2 separate regions of the Homo sapiens genome follow, and region 2 is linked to region 1. Evidence: promoter capture Hi-C in human tissues and cell types (Jung and others, 2019). All regions are on one chromosome and are shown on one strand. Each heading gives the region's core, a stretch centred on a gene start or on the middle of the fragment in contact. The rest is flanking DNA. Distances are from core to core; before and after follow the strand shown.

Region 1 (5,604 bases), core at 2,147-4,646:
GCCAGGCTGGTCTCGAACTCCTGACCTCAGGTGATCCACCTGCCTCGACCTCCCAAAGTGCTGGGATTACAGGCGTGAGCCACCGCACCTGGCCGGTTTGCCGCATTAATTTTGTGGCTTTCTTTTTTTTTTTTTTTTTTTTTGAGACAGAGTTTCACTCTTGTCACCCAGGCTGGAGTGCGTGGCGCAATCTCAGCTCACTGCAACCTCCGCCTCCTGGGTTCAAGCGATTCTCCTGCCTCAGCCTCCCAAGTAGCTGGGATTACAGGCATGCGCTACCACGCCTGATTAATTTTTGTATTTTTAGTAGAGATGGGGTTTCACCATGTTGGCCAGGCTGGTCTCAAACTCCTGACCTCAGGTGGTCATTCACTCCGCTCTAATTGCAAAGAATCCATGTAGCATACTTGTAAACTGCTTACCAGAATTTCTCTTTCCAGTTTTATCTCAGACTACTGCTCTACCAAACCCTTTTAGTGAGAACAATCTATTAATCATACCCTCAATACATCCACTTCAGCATCTTCTCCCTACTCTGAAGTGTTACTGTTTTTCCTGATCCCACCAAGCTACATTAATATTCCTTCACTCTGAGCAAAAAAAACTAACATTTATAGAGAACTTAATGTGTGCCAGTATCACTTCAACTGAATTATTCTATTTAATCCACATAACTCTGTAAAATTTGTTCTATTTTTCCCTTCTCAAGGTGAGAGAAACTGAGTGAGCTTGTCTAAGGTTAACTGAGTTCCCCGAGGTTGCATGATGTTAAGTAGCAAGCCAGACTACAAAATCCGGGCCCTTAAATAAATGCAATGTCTCCTGGCTGAAAGTATGACTGCCTTTACTGCTCACGTCACTCAACATATGCCTTGTGATAGTTAGTATTTTGTGTTAAATGTCTAAAAACCTCAAAACATTACAACACTTATTCAACAAAAATTTACTAAGAGCCTGTGTGCCAGGCATTGTTGACTACCGGGGCACATTAGAGAGCATCTACTAATGAAGATTAGATGAATTCTCTAAATACATGGACATCCCAGAAATATTGGTAAGAGCAAAATCCCAAATAATATGTACACAGCAAGTGTACTAGATAAAAACCAGTCTATGTAAGTACTTTAAAAGAGCACAGTCATAACATGACAAAGTTGTGGGTTTTTGTTTTTGGGGATTTGTTGTTATTTACTATTTCACTGAATTAAGCTTTTGGTAAGAGAATTAAGCAACAGGGTCGGACGCAGTGGCTCAAGCCTGTAATCCCAGTACTTGGGAGGCCGAGGCGGGCAGATCACCTGAGGTCAGGAGTTCGAGACCAGCCTGACCAACTTGGAGAAACCCCGTCTCTACAAAATTAGCCAGGCGTGGTGGCGCATGCCTGTAATCCCAGCTACTCGGGAGGCCGAGGCAGGAGAACTGCTTGAACCCGGGAGGTGGAGGTTGCAATGAGCCAAGATCATGCCATTGCACTCCAGCCTGGCCAACAAGAGCAAAGCTCCGTCTCAAAAAAAAAAAAAAAAGAGAGAGAGAGGAAATACTTAAAAAAAAAAACCTGTGTTTTATGTACTCCTCTTTCCCCATAAAACAGGAGAAATAGCCTAGAGAAAGATTAATGAGCACCTCTGTGCCTAACATTCTATTGTAATCTGGCTTTCTTTAGGAAGATGTGATGTCTTCTGGTTAAGGGTGGCAGGTACTATAAGGGAATACTATCTATATAAATCTTCTTACAATTACAAACTTCTGAAAACTTGTAGCTGATGGTAAATTTTCATACAATGGCATCAAACCTTTGAACTGAAAGGAATCTTGCATAACATCTCCTTCAGAACCCCCCCCACTCCACCCCGCGCCCCTCCACCTTATTTTACAGATTTGTTGGTTACTAAATCCTAAAACCTTAATTCTGGGTCAATGAGAGTAATGCAGCTACCTATACTGTTGAAATGTAGTGGTTTACACTGCAATGGAAATGCACTTCAGAAATAAGTCTGTGTATGCTAGTATCAACCCTGCATGTGGAGTTTTTATTTTAATTACTAACCAGCTATGTTTTCTTGAACTTAACCTTTTTTGTTCTTTTTTTTTTTTCCACTCTCAGCTCACACCTATTTTTTTTCTCTTTTCGAACTTCACCCTTTCAGGCCTGGATGTCTTCATCTGGATAAATTCTAACCGTTGTTGAAAAGCCATGTGGTAAATATTTTTGAAACCTAAAGCCTTCTCTACGCAATAACACTAAGTTTTCATGGTAAATGACACAGTTTCAATATTCTCCCTTTCACATTATGGTCAGTAGTTTGCATTCGTTGCTTGAAGAGGCGAAATGAATAGTCTACAGACACTGGGAACCAAGTACAGCTCAATCCTGAAGAACTCATCGGCCCCTGGACGGGCGCGCACACACCCCCCTGTAATGGTGACTAGTCATTTCGGGGCGCTGTACTTCAGAGCACGACCCCCCTCAAACATCAAGGCCCTAAAGGTGAAAGCCCAGGAAAACGTCGATTCGGACAGCAGCCTCTACCTGCTGCTTTTAGAAGCTGTGGCCTGCCGGAGTCAAACCCCCAAAACGTTTTTCTTAAACTAAGGGTTCAGGCCTCAGATCGGCATCTCGCCCTCTCCGATTTCAGGAGCCCCGAAAAAAGGAGAAGAATAGGCCGCCACTGAACGGCTCAGCCCCCTGACCAGGAGCTGTCCGGATGTTTTTTGTGGCGGCTTGCAATTCGCTGTGACCTTTCCAGGAAGTGTTGCACACGGGCGTGTGGCAAACGAGCTGGCCGTTTCTCGCGGTCCTGCTAAAACGCTGTCAACCTGGCGCTCCACCAGAGGCCCCTTGGCTTCTCGGGAGGCGACCGAGGAGCTCTGGGGGCGGGGAGGCTTTTACAAGAAGCGAAAAGACGGCCTCAGGGGTGGCCGGGAACAGCCTGGAATCAGCTGGAGGACGTCAGCAGGACTGAGGAAAGGGCTACCACCAGCGTGAGGAAAGGGGGGAAGAGGGCGGAACGCGGCGAACGGCCGCGCTGGGAGGCTGAGGCGGGGTCCCAGCGAGCCGGCGGCTGGGAAACAATGGCGCGAGCGTGACGTGGGCCGGAGGCGTCGCGGCGGCGCGGAGGAAGGGGCTGCCGTGGGGCGGGGGCCGCACCGAGGGAGTTGGGAGGCGTGCGGCGTCCGCGAGCGCGCTGGCGGGGACTCGGCCTAAGGAGAGGGGCCTTGGGGCCATGGTCCCTGGGGGCCGGGGGCGGGGGCAGGCGGCGGCCGCTACCCTGGGGTCGCGTGTTCGGCCGCGCACCTCCCCACCTAGCTCCCCGTTCGCCCGCTCCTTCCCCGCCCGCCCACGGGGCCCGCCGCACTCACCGGCTCCAGCGCACCGCAACAATCCCAGCGCGCAACTGCCGCAGCCGCCTCAACGCGCGCCCTCCCCGCCCCCGCCGCCCGGCACCGCCCCGCGCCGCCCCTCTGCTCGCGCCCGGCCAGGGACCGGCGCGCTGTTCCGTCCCCCAGCTCCGCCGCAGAGTTCGGCGAAGCCGACGCTCCCTGACCGCGCTGCGTCTGTCTGTCCCGCGGGTCTGGAGATCTTCAAACGATGGAACACCGGCTTTGCCCTTCTGAGGGTCTCCATCCCTTGGCATTCTGCCTGCGCCCCTCAGCCTGGCCCTGGGCTAACCTCTCCACTGTGTCTCATTCAGAAGAAGCTTTTCCTTGGGAGGAGAGGGCATCCTTTTTCCCAGTCACAGAATGTTTTGGTCTAATGGACCTCAAGGCCCCTCATGCGTCCACACCCCCATGGCACCCTCGAATCCCCTTGATGGCTAAAAACACCAGCTTTGAAGTTTGTCAGAACGAGTTCCAGTCCCAGTACCACCACTTACAAACTGTAACCTCGGGCGAGGTACCTGACCTCCTATACCTGGTGCCCACATTTGTAGCACCAGGATAGGGAACAACAGTCCCCACATCAAAGGGTGTTGACGGGATGAAATCACACAATATAGGTGAGGCCCTCAGCAGGATCCTGGCACACAGTAAGCACTCAATAAATGTTCACCCCACCACCAGCAACTCAGCAGGAAGACTCCGCAAAAGCAGCTAGCTATTTCCAGAGGACTGAATTCCTTGGTCCGAGCAGCTCTCACCAGTGAGAAAATGTGTCTAAACTTCCACTCTCAGGGCCGAAATTCGATGCCTTGGAGCCACAGAGAACAAACGTCTAATCTCTCCTGGACCTTTGACTTTTCAGATACTTTACTTCTATCACCTCTGCCCAAGGTCTTCTCATTCCACATCAGTGTCTCCCGTTCCTTCCATTGTTCCTCCTCTGCCCTGGTTTTGAGGGTCTTTATCCCTCTCACGCAAATGGTAGATTTGACTGTGATTTCTTTAGAATACATCACCCAAGACTGAACCAAATGTTTGTGGTATCATCAGAGCAAAGCAGGACTATAGCTTCCTCCTTTTGGGACCTATCGCTTTGCACTCCTGCGATAAAGTTCTTGGCACCCATACTGTTGACTCATATTGGGCTTGCAGTCAACCAAAACCTCCGCGTCTTTTTAATAAGTGCTCCGCCAGAGCACTTCTACCCCTTCTTGTGCTTCTCAGCCAACTTCGCTTCAGGTCAGCTAAGGATAGACCTTGGGCCCCTCACCTTCTAAATTTCTCAGGATATATGGAAAAGAGGAATAGGGGTTGGAAGCTGGCATAACACAATCTTTAAACCAAGTGCATTTGAAAAAAGGCCAGGGTGGCGGGGCGTGGTAGCTCACACCTGTAATCCCATCACTTTGGGAAGCCAAGGCAGGTGGATCATTTGAGGTCAGGAGTTCAAGACCAGCCTGACCAACATGGCGAAACCCCATCTCTACTAAAAATACAAAAATTAGCTGGGCATGGTGGCACGCACCTGTAGTCCCAGCTACTCGGGAGGCTGAGGCAGGAGAATCGCTTGAACCCGGAAGGCGGAGGTTGCAGTGAGCCAAGATCACGCCACTGAACTCCAGCCTGGGCGACAGAGGGAGACTCCATCTCCAAAAAAAAAAAAAAAGAAGAAACGAAAAAAGGCCAGGGTTTGTGTCTAAACACTATGGTACTGAGAGAAAAACAAATATAGAGACACACACAAATGAATGTGATCACAACTGTGAAAAAAAACTGCACACGCAAAAGACTACAGGGAAATATGTAATTGATTATGTTGTTTTCTCTCAGTGATAAGATGGGGTGGTTTCTTCTTTGTACTTTTGTATTAATTTCTTACGGTGTTTGTATTACTTTTATAATCAAGAACTTTGTTTTAAAAAATAAATCAGAAAAAAGAATTTAAAAAATCAGAGAGATGGAATAACTTGAAAAAAACTGAAAACAAAGTTAAAAGATAACAGAATAAGGGGAAAACTATTCGCAATACACAAAAGACAAAGGATTTGTCTATAAAGGACTCTTAACAAATCAATAATAAAAAGAATGAGGCCGGGCGCGGTGGCTCACGCCTGTAATCCCAGCCCTTTGGGAGGCCGAGGCGGGCAGATCACGAGGTCAGGAGATTGAGACCATCCTGGCTAACGTGGTGAAACCCTGTCTCTACTAAAAACACAAAAAATT
Region 2 (5,895 bases), core at 1,135-3,634, 430 kb before region 1:
ATACACCATGTGGTCTTTTATGACTGGTTTTCTTTACTTAGCATGTTTTCAAGGTTCATCCATGTTGTAGCATGTATCAATACTTCATACCTTTTTATGGTCAATTAATGTAGGTCCAGCCCTATGGGGCTTAGCGGGTGTTCTCCCTGTGTGCGGAGACGAGAGATTGTAATAAATAAAGACACAAGACAAAGAGATAAAGAGAAAGCAGCTGGGCCTGGGGGACCACTACCATCAAGATGCAGAGACCGGTAGTGGCCCCGAGCAGCTGGGCTTGCTGAGATTTATTGCATACAAGACAAGGGGGCAGGGTAAGGAGGGTCAGTCTTCTAAGTGGTTGACAAGGTGAAGCAGGTCACGTGCTTACAGGATAGGGGGCCCTTCCTTTTAGGTAGCCAGAGCAGAGAGAGAAGGCAGCATACGTCAGCGTTTTCTTCTCTGCACTTACAAAGAAAAGATCAAAGACTTTAAGACTTTCACTATTTCTTCTACCGCTATCTACTACGAACTTCAAAGAGGAACCAGGAGTACGGGAGGAGCATGAAAGTGGACAAGGAGCGTGACCACTGAAGCACAGCACCACAGGGAGGGGTTTAGGACTCCGGATGACTGTGGGCAGGCCTGGATAATATCCAGCCTTCCACAAGAAGCTGGTGGAGCAGAGTGTTCCCTGACTCCTCCAAGGAAAGGAGACTCCCTTTCGCGGTCTGCTAAGTAACGGGTGCCTTCCCAGACACTGGCGTTACCGCTTGACCAAGGAGCCCTCAAGCGGCCCTTATGCGGGCATGACAGAAGGCTCACCTCTTGCCTTCTAGGTCACTTCTCACAATGTCCCTTCAGCACCTGACCCTATACCTGCCGGTTATTCCTAGGTTATATTAGTAATGCAACAAAAAGTAACATTAAAAGCTAATGATTAATAATGTTTATAATAATGATTGATAATTGTCCATGATCATCTCTGTATCTAATTTGTATTATGACTATTCTTATTCTGTTTTCTTTATTATACTGAAATAGTTTGTGCCTTCAGTCTCTTGCCTTGGCACCTGGGTACTCTTTGCCTACAAATTAATACTCCATTTTATAGATATACTCCATTTTATTTATTCATCAATTGATGAACATTTGAGCTGTTTCCAGTTTGGGACTATTATGAATAATGCTGCTGTGAACGTTGGTGTACAAGTTTTTTTGTTTGTTTGTTGTAGAGATGGGGGTCTTACTATATTGCCCAGGCTGGGGAGTAAGCTATTCACAGGAAAGATCATAGCTCACTACAGCCTCCAACTCCCAGGCTCAAGCGAATCCTCCTGCCTCAGCCTCCTGAGTAGCTGCAACTACAGGCACATGCCACTCTGCCTGACTTGATGTACAAGTTTTTATGTGGACTTGTTTTTAATTATCTTGGGTATATACCTAGTAGTGGAATTGCTGGGTTATTTGGTAATGCTATGTTTAACTTTTTGAGAGACTTCCAGACTTTTCTGAAGCAGCTGCACCATTTTACACCCCCACCAGCAATGTATGAGAGTTTCAATTTCTCCAACACTTGTTATGGTCTGCCTTTTTAATTACAGCCATGCTAGTGGGTGTGAAGTAGTTTCTCATTGTGATTTTGATTTGCATTTCCCTAATGACTAGTAATATCAAATATTTTTCCTGTTCTTATTGGCCATTTGTGTATCTTCCTTGGAGAAATTTCTATTCAATCCTTTGTCCATTTACCCTTATCTGACTCGGGGGCCAGAGCTCTTCCCAGTGAGTGATGCCCAGGGTGAGATTTTCTTTTAAACTGGGCTCGGTCAGGGCTCTGGCATTTCCAGACCTGGCTATGTTCCTGCCTAGTCTTGTGACCCTGGGCCACTTAACCTCTCTGAGCCTTCCTTGTTTCTTTCTTTCTTTCTTTCTTTCTTTTTTTTTTTTTTTTTGAGGTGGAGTTTTGCTCTTGTAGCCCAGGCTGGAGTGCAATGGCACGATCTTGGCTCAACTCAACCTCCGCCTCCCGGGTTCAAGCGATTCTCCTGCCTCAGCCTTCCGAGTAGCTGGGATTACGGGCATGCACCACCACGCCCTGCTAATTTTGTATTGTTAGTAGAGACGGGGTTTCTCTATGTTGGTCAGGCTAGTCTCGAACTCCTGAGCTCAGGTGATCGCCTGCCTCAGCCTCCAAAAGTGCTGGGATTACAGGCGTGAGCCACCGTGCCTGGCCGAGTCTTCCTTATTTCCATCAGCATTGCCCAGAGACTGCTCTGAGGCCAGCCATTCTGTGATAAGAGGCCCATGTGGTCAGAGAAGGCTCCCCGCTCGTTTGGGGAGTCTTAGTGCATATGCTTACAGTTCAGCTTCTGAACAGTCACACAGTTAGGACATCTATATGAATCTTTTATCCAATATATAAATTGCAAATGTTTTCTCCCGTTCTGTTTTGCCCCCACTTTTTTTTGAGATGGAGTCTCTGTCATCTGGGCTGGAGTGCAGTGGCACAATCTCGGCTCATTGCAACCTCTGCCTCCCGAGTTCAAGTGATTCTCCTTCCTCAGCTTCCTTAGTAGCTGGGAATACAAGTGTGTGCCACCACACCTGGCTAATTTTTTTTTATTTTTTAATTTTTTGTGTTTTTTGGTAGAGACAGGGTTTCACCATGTTGGCCAGGCTGTTTTTTTTTTTTTTTTTCTTTTCTTTTCTTTTTTTTGAGACGGAGTCTCACTCTGCTGCCCAGGCTGGAGTGCAGTGGCGCGATCTTGGCTCACTGCAGCCTCTACCTCCTGGGTTCCAGTGATTCTCCTGCCTCAGCCTCTCAAGTAGCTGGGATTACAGGCACCTACCACCATGCCTGGCTAATTTTTGTATTTTTAGTAGAGATGGGGTTTTCCTGTGTTGATCAGGCTGGTCTGGAACTCCTGACCTCAGGCAATCTGCCTGCCTCGGCCTCCCAAAGTGCTGGGATTACAGGCGTGAGCCACTACACTCAGCCTTAAATTTTTTTATGTTTAATTTTTTCTTTTTTTGAGACGGAGTTTCACTCTTGTTGCCCAGGCTGGAGTGCAATGGTACAATCTTGGCTCATTGCAACCTCCGCCTCCCAGGTTCAAGTGAGTCTCCTGCCTCAGCCTTCTGAGTAGCTGGGATTACAGGCACCTTCCACCATGCCCAGCTAATTTTTTGTATTTTTAGTGGAGACAGGGTTTAACTGTGTTAGCCAGGATGGTCTCAATTTCCTGATCTCGTGATACACCCACCTCGGCCTAATTTTTTGTATTTTTAGTAGAGATGGGGTTTCACCATGTTGGCCAGGCTTGTCTCGAACTCCAGATTTCAGGTGATCCACCCACCTCGGCCTCCGAAAGTGCTGGGATTATAAGTGTGAGCCACTGTGCCAGGCCTTTAATGTTTAATTTTTTAGGGACAGTGTCTTGCTGTTGCCCAGGCTGGAGTGCAGTGGCGTGATCACAGCTCACTGTAGCCTCAAACTCCTGAGCTCAAGCAATCCCCCTACCTTAACCTCTCCAGTAGCTGGGACTGCAAGTGTGTGCCACCACATCTAGCTAATTTTTAAAACAATTTTTTTATAGAGGCGGAGTCTCCCTATGTTGCTTACGTTGGTCTAGAACTCCTGGCCTCAAGCATTCTTCCCACCTCAGCTTCCCAAAGTGCTAAGATTACAGACAGGAGCCGCTACAGCTGGCCATCTTTTAGTGGTCGCACCACTCCAGCCTGGGTGACCCTGTCTCAAAAAATGAAGAAGTAAAAATAAATAAAAAATGAATCTCTGAAAGATAACAATGTTCCTCAACATTAGTCATCCCATAGCATACCCAGAAAACTTGACAATAATCCCTTAATGTTGTAGGATAGGATCTTGCACTTGAGAATTTAAATAAGATCTAAGAATAAAAATATTACTACAAAATTCAGCTAATTATGACAGTTCTTCAGTTTTCTTAAGTAATTAGCCCTCAGGAAGTTCCTCTACTTGAAAAAATGTTACTCCCAACAGTACCCTTAATCCCATGAGAATCAAAAGTGCTCTTCCAATCCCAGCATTCTCAGTCTTACTTGAACAGGTCTAGTAGTGGCGTTTTAACCATAACCTTTCTTCCACCCTGCAAAACTTGGTCTTTCATTTTCTTTGACACACACATCCATTTCCAACCTTTGCTTAGTGGATAAAGTGAAAGATTAACTTACGACGTTTGCCCTCAATTTTTAGTGAAGAGAGAATTTTGGGGAAAATCCTACTCTTATCTGAGATTGCATAAATGTTCAGAGAAACGTGGAAAAATGAAGAGACCCTGCCAGCATATCTTCTCCTCTTCCAGCTCTTCGGGGATGCAAGCTGTTGGTCCCTATCCTGTGTTTGGCTGACTATGCCTACCCTTCCGGTACAGTACTGGGGGTTTCAGGGCAGGTGAGCAAGGCTGCTGAGGGAGAAATGGAACATAGAATTTAGAGACTGAGGCTGGGTGCAGTGGCTCACGCTTGTAATCCCAGTGCTTTGGGTGGCCAAGGTGGAAGGATCACTTGAGCCCAGGAGTTTGAGACCAGCCTGGGCAAGATGGTCAAACCCTGTCTCTACAAAAATACAAAAATTAGCTGGGTGGTGTGGCTCATGCCTGTTGTCCCAGCTACTTCGGAAGCTGAGGTGGGAGGATCACTTGAGACTGGGAGGCAGAGGCTGCAGTGAGCTGAGATCATCGCACCATTGCACTCCAGCCTGGGTGACAGAGTGAAACTTTTGTCTCAAAAAAAAAAAAAAAAAAAAGAATTTGGAGACTGAAAGACACTGGAGAGATAACGATACTGTGAACAGATGTTCAGTTAGAGAGTCTGTGCTGCTCAAAATATAGGAGATTTGGGGTTGAGCAGACTCAACTGTGTGACTGTTCCGAGGCTTAACCGTAAGCTTATACATTGTGACTCCACAAACGAGATGGTAGACTTTGATTACATGGGCCTCTTATCACAGAAATGGCTGGCCTGGGAGGGGTCTCTGTGCACTGCTGATAGAAGTAAGGAAGGCTCAGAGAGATTAAGTCATTCGCCCAGAGTAATGAGACTAGGTGCTAGCATGGCCAGGTCTGGAATGCAAGAGACCTGGAACAATTTAGTTTAAAGGAAAGTCTCCCCCTGGGCATTCTTCACTGGAGTCCCATGGGAAGACCTCTGTCCCTTCAGCCAGAAACCCTTAGTCCAATCCAAGGTCACTTTACATTTTCAGACCTCCAGTATATTCATCTGGGAAGCAGGGATAGCAATATCCTGTTACCAGCTGTATTCCAGCTGATAGAAGGAGCAGCTAAAATGGATGGGTAAGTTGTTTATCAACCTTGAATTCTGATTTTGTTGAATTTTCTTTCTGTTTTTTTGAGACAGAGTCTCGCTCTGTCATCCAGGCTGGAGTGCAGTGGCGCGATCTCGACTCACTGCAACCTCTGCCTCCCAGATTCCAGCAATTCTCATGCCTCAGCCTCCCAAGTAGCTGGGACTATAGGTGTGCGCCACCACGCCCGGCTAATTTTCGTATTTTTGGTAAAGACATGGTTTCACCATGTTGGCGAGGTCGGTCTCAAACTCCTGACCTCAGGTGATCCGCCTGCCTCGGCCTCCCAAAATGCTGAGATTACAGGTGTGAGCCACCACGCCCGGCCTTCTCTGTATTTTCTTGAAGTTTGCTGAGCTTCCTTAAAACCCTGAGTTCTCTGCAAGAAGAAGGATGATGACTTATGGTGCCTCTCACTGGTGAGGTCCACCTTTTCTGCAATTTTGAGCACAGTCCAAGGCCTTGGAAAAGCTTTGTTTCTTGAGTCTCTCAAATAAGAACAACAACATTAGCTTTTCTGGGAGGGCCAATGGCTGTGCTGTGATGGGGCATGGATGCTTTCTCAGAGGTAC

What was found. The method cuts DNA at HindIII sites, captures the fragments that hold promoters and counts their contacts. A contact is called where the count stands out against the background at its distance.
Region 2: a fragment that was not itself captured here is called in contact with the fragment with the promoter of NT5C2 in region 1 in 1 of the 25 tissues and cell types used here (hippocampus).

Annotation. Positions count from the first base shown.
Region 1 is chr10:103,189,876-103,195,479 of GRCh38, forward strand. NT5C2 (5'-nucleotidase, cytosolic II) reads right to left here and starts at 3,397. Exons shown (of 19, transcript NM_001351169.2): 1 at 3,361-3,397. RefSeq lists enhancers at 2,138-2,826, 2,827-3,513 and a silencer at 3,212-3,491. The HindIII fragment of the contact is 10,406 bases long and covers 225-5,604 here.
Region 2 is chr10:102,758,463-102,764,357 of GRCh38, forward strand. All of the region lies in intron 1 of WBP1L (WW domain binding protein 1 like), which reads left to right. Among named protein-coding and RNA genes, the nearest start is that of WBP1L, 17 kb to the left of the region's middle. The HindIII fragment of the contact is 5,932 bases long and covers 1-5,350 here.